Linked DNA regions of Homo sapiens: region 1 is linked to region 2. The links are contacts of gene promoters, found by promoter capture Hi-C in blood cells and fetal thymus (Javierre and others, 2016). All regions are on one chromosome and are shown on one strand. The core of a region is centred on a gene start or on the middle of the fragment in contact, and the rest is flanking DNA. Distances in the headings are between cores, read along the strand shown.

The links. The method cuts DNA at HindIII sites, captures the fragments that hold promoters and counts their contacts. A CHiCAGO score of 5 or more calls a contact.
Region 1: a contact is called between a fragment that was not itself captured here and the fragment with the promoter of LRRC15 in region 2, in 6 of 17 cell types (M0 macrophages, M2 macrophages, naive B cells and 3 more). The highest score is 9.4, in M0 macrophages.

The regions. Positions count from the first base shown.
Region 1 is chr3:193,769,642-193,773,056 of GRCh38, forward strand. LOC105374282 (a long non-coding RNA gene) reads right to left here and starts at 2,744. Exons shown (of 2, transcript XR_924838.4): 1 at 2,175-2,744; 2 at 1,311-1,824. RefSeq lists an enhancer at 1,929-3,415. The HindIII fragment of the contact is 2,277 bases long and covers 717-2,993 here.
Region 2 is chr3:194,367,742-194,371,299 of GRCh38, forward strand. LRRC15 (leucine rich repeat containing 15) reads right to left here and starts at 2,002. Exons shown (of 2, transcript NM_130830.5): 1 at 1,920-2,002. RefSeq lists an enhancer at 1,461-2,425. The HindIII fragment of the contact is 9,301 bases long and covers 1-3,558 here.

The DNA of each region.
Region 1 (3,415 bases), core at 605-3,104, 600 kb before region 2:
GTGACCTCAGAAAGTGATGATCCTTTCATTTTCTGGTTGGCAGCAGAGGGAGAGGGGCAAGGGGCCTCCTGCTTCCCTCCAATCAGAGCCAAGGATTGGCAGTAGATGGCCTCTTCTTTCTAGATCCTCTGCTTCTTAGTAGTAGCAGGCTGCCCTAACTGTTTTCATGTTAAAAACTCTGCTCAGGGCAACAAGCATGGTAGAGCCACTGTATACATCAACTCTTTTTTTTTTTTTTTTTTTTTTTTTTTGAGGCGGAGTTTTGCTCTTGTTGCCCAGGCAGGAGTGCAGTGGCATGATCTCGGCTCACTGCAAACTCCACCTCCCGGGTTCAAGCGATTCTCCTGCCTCCGCCTCCTGAGTAGCTGGAATTACAGCCACCCGGCACCACACCTGGCTAATTTTTTTGTATTTTTAGTAGAGACGGGGTTTCGCCATATTGGCCAGGCTGGTCTCAAACTGCCAACCTCAGGTGATCCGCCCGCCTCGGCCTCCCAAAGTGCTAGAATTACAGGCATGAGCCACAGCGCCCGGCCCACATCAACTCTTAACTGTATTGTGAATTGTATTTGTGGATTACATACATATCCTTGAAGGCAAAAAATAAATGGAAGCTCAATCAATTCTTTTGCCATGCTCAAAATGTACAGCTGATATTGTGAAGTGCTAAACCCTGTGGAAATGATAGTTGTCATCAGTTCAATGAACAAAATGCAAGCTTGAAAAACAGGACTTTCAACATGTGTTTACCATCAATTGATATGAACCGAACAGCCATATATCTCTTTTTAGTGGGCTGAAACTGACTCCTGTCACAGGAAGAATGGGAAAAAGTTTGATTTTGCTTGAAAAAAATAACATTATGAAAGCTAAAACTCATGATTTTAGAAAATGTAATATCTTCTATTTAAAACAAATATAGTTTATTACAGCATTATATTGCAATAATGTTGGAGAGATAATTGATTAAAATAAAATGAAAATGTATGGAGTAAGCAAAATTGAATTAATTGCTTCTGAATGTAATGTTGTTTTCTTAAATTGAATGAAATGTTTTGAGTCTTTATTCATGCTTTTTCGTAGCCCTTTCAGACATTTTAACTAATATATATTAGTGAGATAGAGAAACCAATATAAATTAGTGAAATTAATATTTGTTATATCTCAAATGGATATAAAATAGGTATTTTAACTAGGTTAATAGAATTTAAAAATTCTGTAAGAGGTATTTGTTTTGAATTATAGATCCTAGAAAATGGAATTATTTTAATCATCTAATTTGTATGTGTTTAACTTTAAGAATGTCTCAATGCAGGAAAAAAAGAGAGGTTTTTATTGTGGCTCCTAAAATTTAGAACACAGATTATTGTAGAAGTTCTCGCAACTGCCTAAAAGGAGTACATGTTTTGAAAGAATAAACAGAAAGAAAAAGAAAGAACAAGGCAAAAGAGTCAGCCCTTGGTGAGGAGGCTTTGAGGAGCCTTGTGGGTCTGGGTAGGCAGACAGTGCGGGCCGGAGGTGGCGCATTCCCTGTGCGGCCTGACAAAGCGACGCAGAGCCCTGCCCTCCAAACAACAGCACAAATGACAGAAGCCATCAGCTGCGGTCAATTTTCCAATGACAAGGCTTCTTAAAGTAAGGCGGTTCAAAGCGCAGGAACCCAAACACTGGGGCACAGTGAGTGAAGCTCACAGGTCCTGCACCTGCCGCTGGCGTCTGTTACAGCTCATTTCTTTCGTGTGTCAGGTAGAAAGGGCACTCTATATAACTCTGCACTTGCCCAGGAATCTCTCCTCTACAATCGGCAGCCAGTACTTCACGTGTCTGGAGGGAGCGGGAGAGGCAAGCAAGGTTAATGACGTGCCTAAGGTCACGGGAAAAGTAAGTGGAGAAATATGAGCAGCCTCCCAGACCTTGGGCCTGTTTCCCTCCCATTTCTGTGCTGTGACACACAATGCAACGGATGAAGGGACGGTTCTCCTTTTATCATCCTTTCCAACAAGTGGAAAAATTGCTTTGCTGAGACAGTGACCAATTTCTTTCTAAAGCGTTCAGTACACAAGACCTCCTGAAAGTACCTATGTAAATGGAACCCACGTCTTCCTTTTCTGTTCTTCTTCTTATCGTGGTGTTGGTTGTTCCTAATATAAGTATTATTTTAGGCTTTCTCTTACCACAGCCCTTTAAGCCACAAAGACCCTCTAGGCTTCTGATGTTGAGGTCATGGAGGCCACTCCTTCCCCAAATTCCGATCTGCGAAGGCATCAGAGGAGAACGGCTGTGAGAAGCAGTGGGCGGGAACCCATCCTTGGCTAGGTTTACAGTGCTGTTGAAGGGGCTGATGGCGGCTACTGTTTGTTTTTACCGTCTCTCGCTCTCTCTCTCTGATAATTCCCTCCAAGTTGGACACTTAAAATAAGGTCCTCGTAAACTCCTTCAGCTTGAGAGTTTCCAGGAAAGGGAATGTTAATTTTGTTGACAAATTTCAGTATCCCAAAGCCCCAGGTCTTAATTCATTGTCAAACTCTCGGTCCTGAGCCTGCATACTCCCCTTGTGCTCCTAATTAGTCTTGTCATGAGCTCCTATGCTGTTGTCTTAAACACAGCCCTGTGTCCTGGGAGCCAAAGGGCGCTTTGGGGTGCGTAGTGCTGTATTTGTGTATATTTAAAAAAAATAGTCATCGCTCGTCTTGCTGTGGCCGCCATCATTTTTCCGTGGAGGTGTTGCCATAGAGATGTTGTCTGATCCATCTCTATTGATATCACCCTTTAAAGGGGCCCCTGAATAGGCACTGAGGTAGGTAAATGTATGCAGTGACATTGAGCGGATGATTCTATTCTGAAAAATTCCTGCACCATTTGTTTCTGTGCTTGTCTGAGGGCCGGGACACGGTGTTGGGTTTTGTTGCACGTGCTCTCTTCACAGGCCCGGAGTTAATGCAAGCCTTGTTTGAAACCACTGAAGCAGAAATTTCTCTGCTGCCAAGGACAAAAGCTTCACAGGCCACCTCGGAGGCTGCTTTGGGAAGGCCGTGTCTCCGGGGCTCCCAAAGGAAATGGGAGATAACCGGGAGCAGGGAGGAGCACCTCAAATTCCCCCAGCCCTCCTAGACTGTCTGGACACATCTGGCCCCCTCTCTTCTGGGGAAGTGCTGGCCTCTCCAATCAGAGGTTTTGATATAATTTGCCCTTTTCCAGCCTGTTGAGAGAAATTGTCTGAAAGATAGGCGTGCTTTTCTGTCCGTGGTATTAAGTGTGTATTTGTACATCTTCTCTGCATCTTTTCTGTCTCACATCATGGGGGAGAAGCTCTCTTATAAACAACAGTCACAGTTACACTGATTCACACCTTTACGTTTAAACCAAATGATACCACGTTCTCTTCCTACTCTGAGAAAAAGAAAGGGAGGAAGAA
Region 2 (3,558 bases), core at 752-3,251:
CCAAAGCAAGACTGGCCACACCCTCACCGTCCACCTTGATCAAGCGGGGACCCGCGTCTCTCATCTCTCATGGCCCTTCAAAGCCAACATGTTGCTTATTGTTTGAAAACAGAAAATCAGTTAAAAAGCGCAATTCCTTTCCAGCCCTTCTGTTGGGGATCCTCCCAGGTCTGGCTTCCTGCAGAGGCCAGAGCAGGACTGTCATTAGCCTGGCAAGGGTGGCAGGAGAAACTGACAAACCGCCCAGCAGAACAGGAGAACTGCCCCAAAAGGGCTCTTATGACAGCAGCCACGGGCTACAAACAGCCCCCTTCTCAGGCGGGCACCTGGGATCCCAAAGTAGAGAGAAATGGATCAGCCCCTGATCAAAGCATCTGGAAGCAGGTTCTAATTTCTGTGTCCAAAAGCCAAGACAGGCCATAAATCTGAAGCAGCAGTGACTCCTTCGTGGTCAGGATTCAGGGCAGCAAATTGCCATGTGTGATCACAGTCTGCTTACTGGCAGGACTGAGTCGGGACAGCTCCTCCCCCACCCCTTATTCTCCACGGCTGGATCTATTCTACCTCGCCTCACCACCCCGCCATTTACTGAGCGAGCTAAGGGAGTGTTCCCTAGCCCTGGGAAGAACCTTCCATGACCTGACTGTCTGTCGAATCTATCCAGAACTTACCCTGGCCCCGAACCCTCTCACATGCCTGCCTCATCACTGCTGAGCCCGCCCAGCTGACTCAAGACCACAGGCAAATTGGGCTGTCTGGCCCTGAATTTACTCCAGATGTTCAGTCTCTGCAGAATGAAGGAAGTGCCAGCCGTTAGAGCACTTCTAAATTAAGGAGCCAGTGGCAGCAACACATCTGAGAGCTGCCCAAGGTAAAGTGACGCATCCCAGATAACCCCAAAGGAGAAGCTGGCACGTGGCAGACAGGCACCTGGCACCTGCGACTGGAGCACACGTGTCATCTCAGAGAGAGTGCAGCTGCACCGAGGTGATGCCCTGGGCCCGGGAGGTGGAATGGCTCTTGCACTTTGGCAGGGGTGGGAGAGTCCTGAAAGCTCTGGTTTTCCACAGTTGGTTTCTTGGCCCCAGGTCCTGCCTCTACGTTTGAGCAGAGACACGGGTCAAGGTGCAGCCGTCACAATTTCAAATCCACATACCACCTCATCACAAATCCATCTCCTGCCCTGACTCCCTGCTCAAAGCCTCCAGGCTCCACAGAGGCCGACGCTTCCAGCAGGAGAGAGGGGAAACTGCCAGCATAGTGTCCCCTAAGCCACACTGTTAGAGCCTGAACAATGCTGAGCCCATGTCCGAATTCCAAATTGGAACTGCAAACCAGGGACCAGCACATCTGCTGAAGTTACACTTGCAGGAGTTATCCATCTATGCAAAGCAGACAGCTCTCTTGCCTGGGAAACCCCCATGAAGGAAGGTCTTGGGCAGAACCAAATGCGGGGCAGACCACTGGGAGCCACCAGGGCAAGTGCCAGGAAAGATGGCACAGGCGCAAATAATCTGAACCTTAAAAAGAGAAGTTCTTCCCCCAGTGGATCTAGATTCCAGAACGGTCAATCCAGTGACAAGGGGGGTGATAATTTAGTCCACTTTCAGCCCAACTTGCTGGTCTCAGACATCTCAGCACCCCAGGTTGACATCATGAGCCGCTCAGGGCAAGGGGCATAAGAGGCTGTTGAGGCATCAGCAGAGGGGCTGGTGGTCCTGGTGTCCAGGCAGTGAGGGAGACAGGCTTGCACCCCTCCAGCACAGGCTGCTTCTGTCCCTGTCCCGAGAGCATCCCCAGGCACATGTCAGCTCTGCCCCTTCTGGGGTCTCCGAGGGGAGCAGGTCCAGCAGAAATGGGAAGGGGCTGGCCGGGCCCTCTAAGCAGAGAGGAGGGATGGGGGTGGCTTGCCTACTTACCAGCAGCTCGGCGCCCGCCCGCCGTGGACAAGAGGGAGCCTGAGAGGAGGACGAGGGACGGCTCAAGGCTGCAGCATGAGTGTGGCTCGCCTAAGCTGTCCCGGTATTTAAACTATCCCGGGCGTGAGTCACTGCAGAGGGCAGTGTTGGCCCTGGGAGGGGGGACTGTGGGCCACAGTGCAGTGCCTGCATGTCCCGGGCTGACACTACAGGGTACACATAGCTGGCATCCCTAAATGTAAGGGGTTTGCTTCAACCGTATTTAAAAACTCAGGACACATTTTCCTCTTTCCTTCTTTCCCCCAGTGTATCTTTTGGATTCCTTCACTGCATTGGCCACCGTGAGAGGGGAGTTTACAACGACCCGGTAAACCCCTCCCTAAGTGACTGTGGACCCCCTGCTGCCCTGCCCTGGCCAAGGAGACAAGGACCCCGAGAAAGGGATGGAGCAGGATTCAGGGGCGTTTCTTTGCTCCTAGAAGTATTGGCAAGTGCTTCTCCCTGTGGTTCTAGAAAACTTATTCATTCTTCTCTTTCTTTCTTTCTTTCTTTCTTATTTTAAACTTTTTATTTGGCTTTAAATTTACAGACAATTAATGTGTTTCATCTGTTGTTAACATTTTGGAAGAAGCATTTACTTTAGATTCCAAGGAAAAATATAATTACGACCACTGTGTCCCCTCTAAAAACAGCATTTCCGATTTCCTTGTGATGCTGGGGTCTTTGCCATTACTGCTGCTCTGAGAGGTGCAGGCACACACATCTCTGGCTTGGGGACGGGCAATCAAGGGGCATATTTGGGCGTGAGGAGCTTCCCTATGCCCCTCACCTCTGCATTACAGCCCACACACTGCTGCCCTCTCTACCCCCGTCCCCAGTGGGGACAAAACTGTTTCTATTTGTGGTATCCCCAAAAAGGCCTGGGGAAGAGGATACAGGAATCATAGTTGGAGGGGCGGGAAGGCTTCCAAACCCCGGCTTCTCCTCCGAGATGGAGCCTCAACAAGGCCTGAGCTGCCCCAGGCTGAAGCCACCCTGCCTTTGCCTGGCTCGGTTTACCCTCTCAGCTAAGTGGGGAGAGTGATATTTACACACAGTGCCTCATGGAGTGCCAAGAGGCTTAATTAATATTTGCGCTGTGTTTTGAGATCTGCGATGAAAGGAAGATATAAAAGTGCGTAGTGTTATTACTGAAATAGTTGCTTGGGTGGCTTGTCATGGTCAAGACCTACAGCCTGAATCACGCCACATTCCTCCTCACTGTGGCACCGTGATTCAGAGCCGGAAACAAAAAGTGTCTTGTCCACTAAATAACAGGAGCCCAGGAGGGGCAGGCACTGCTTGGAGTGGCTCCACACAGCTTGAAGCCCCATCCCTTCCCCCACCAGCCTTGTTCCCACGTGCAGAACACCTTCCCTCTTACGGCCCTGATTCCTCCACGTTCCCAAATCAGGTACTTTAACTTTTCTCTTTTTTTTTTTTTTTTGAGACGGAGTCTCACTCTGTCACCCAGGCTGGAGTGCAATGGCGCGATCTCGGCTCACCGCAGCCTCCGCCTCCTGGGTTCAAGCGATTCTCCTGCCTCAGCCTCCTGAGTAGCTGGGATTACAGGCACGCACCACCAGGCTCAGCTAATTTT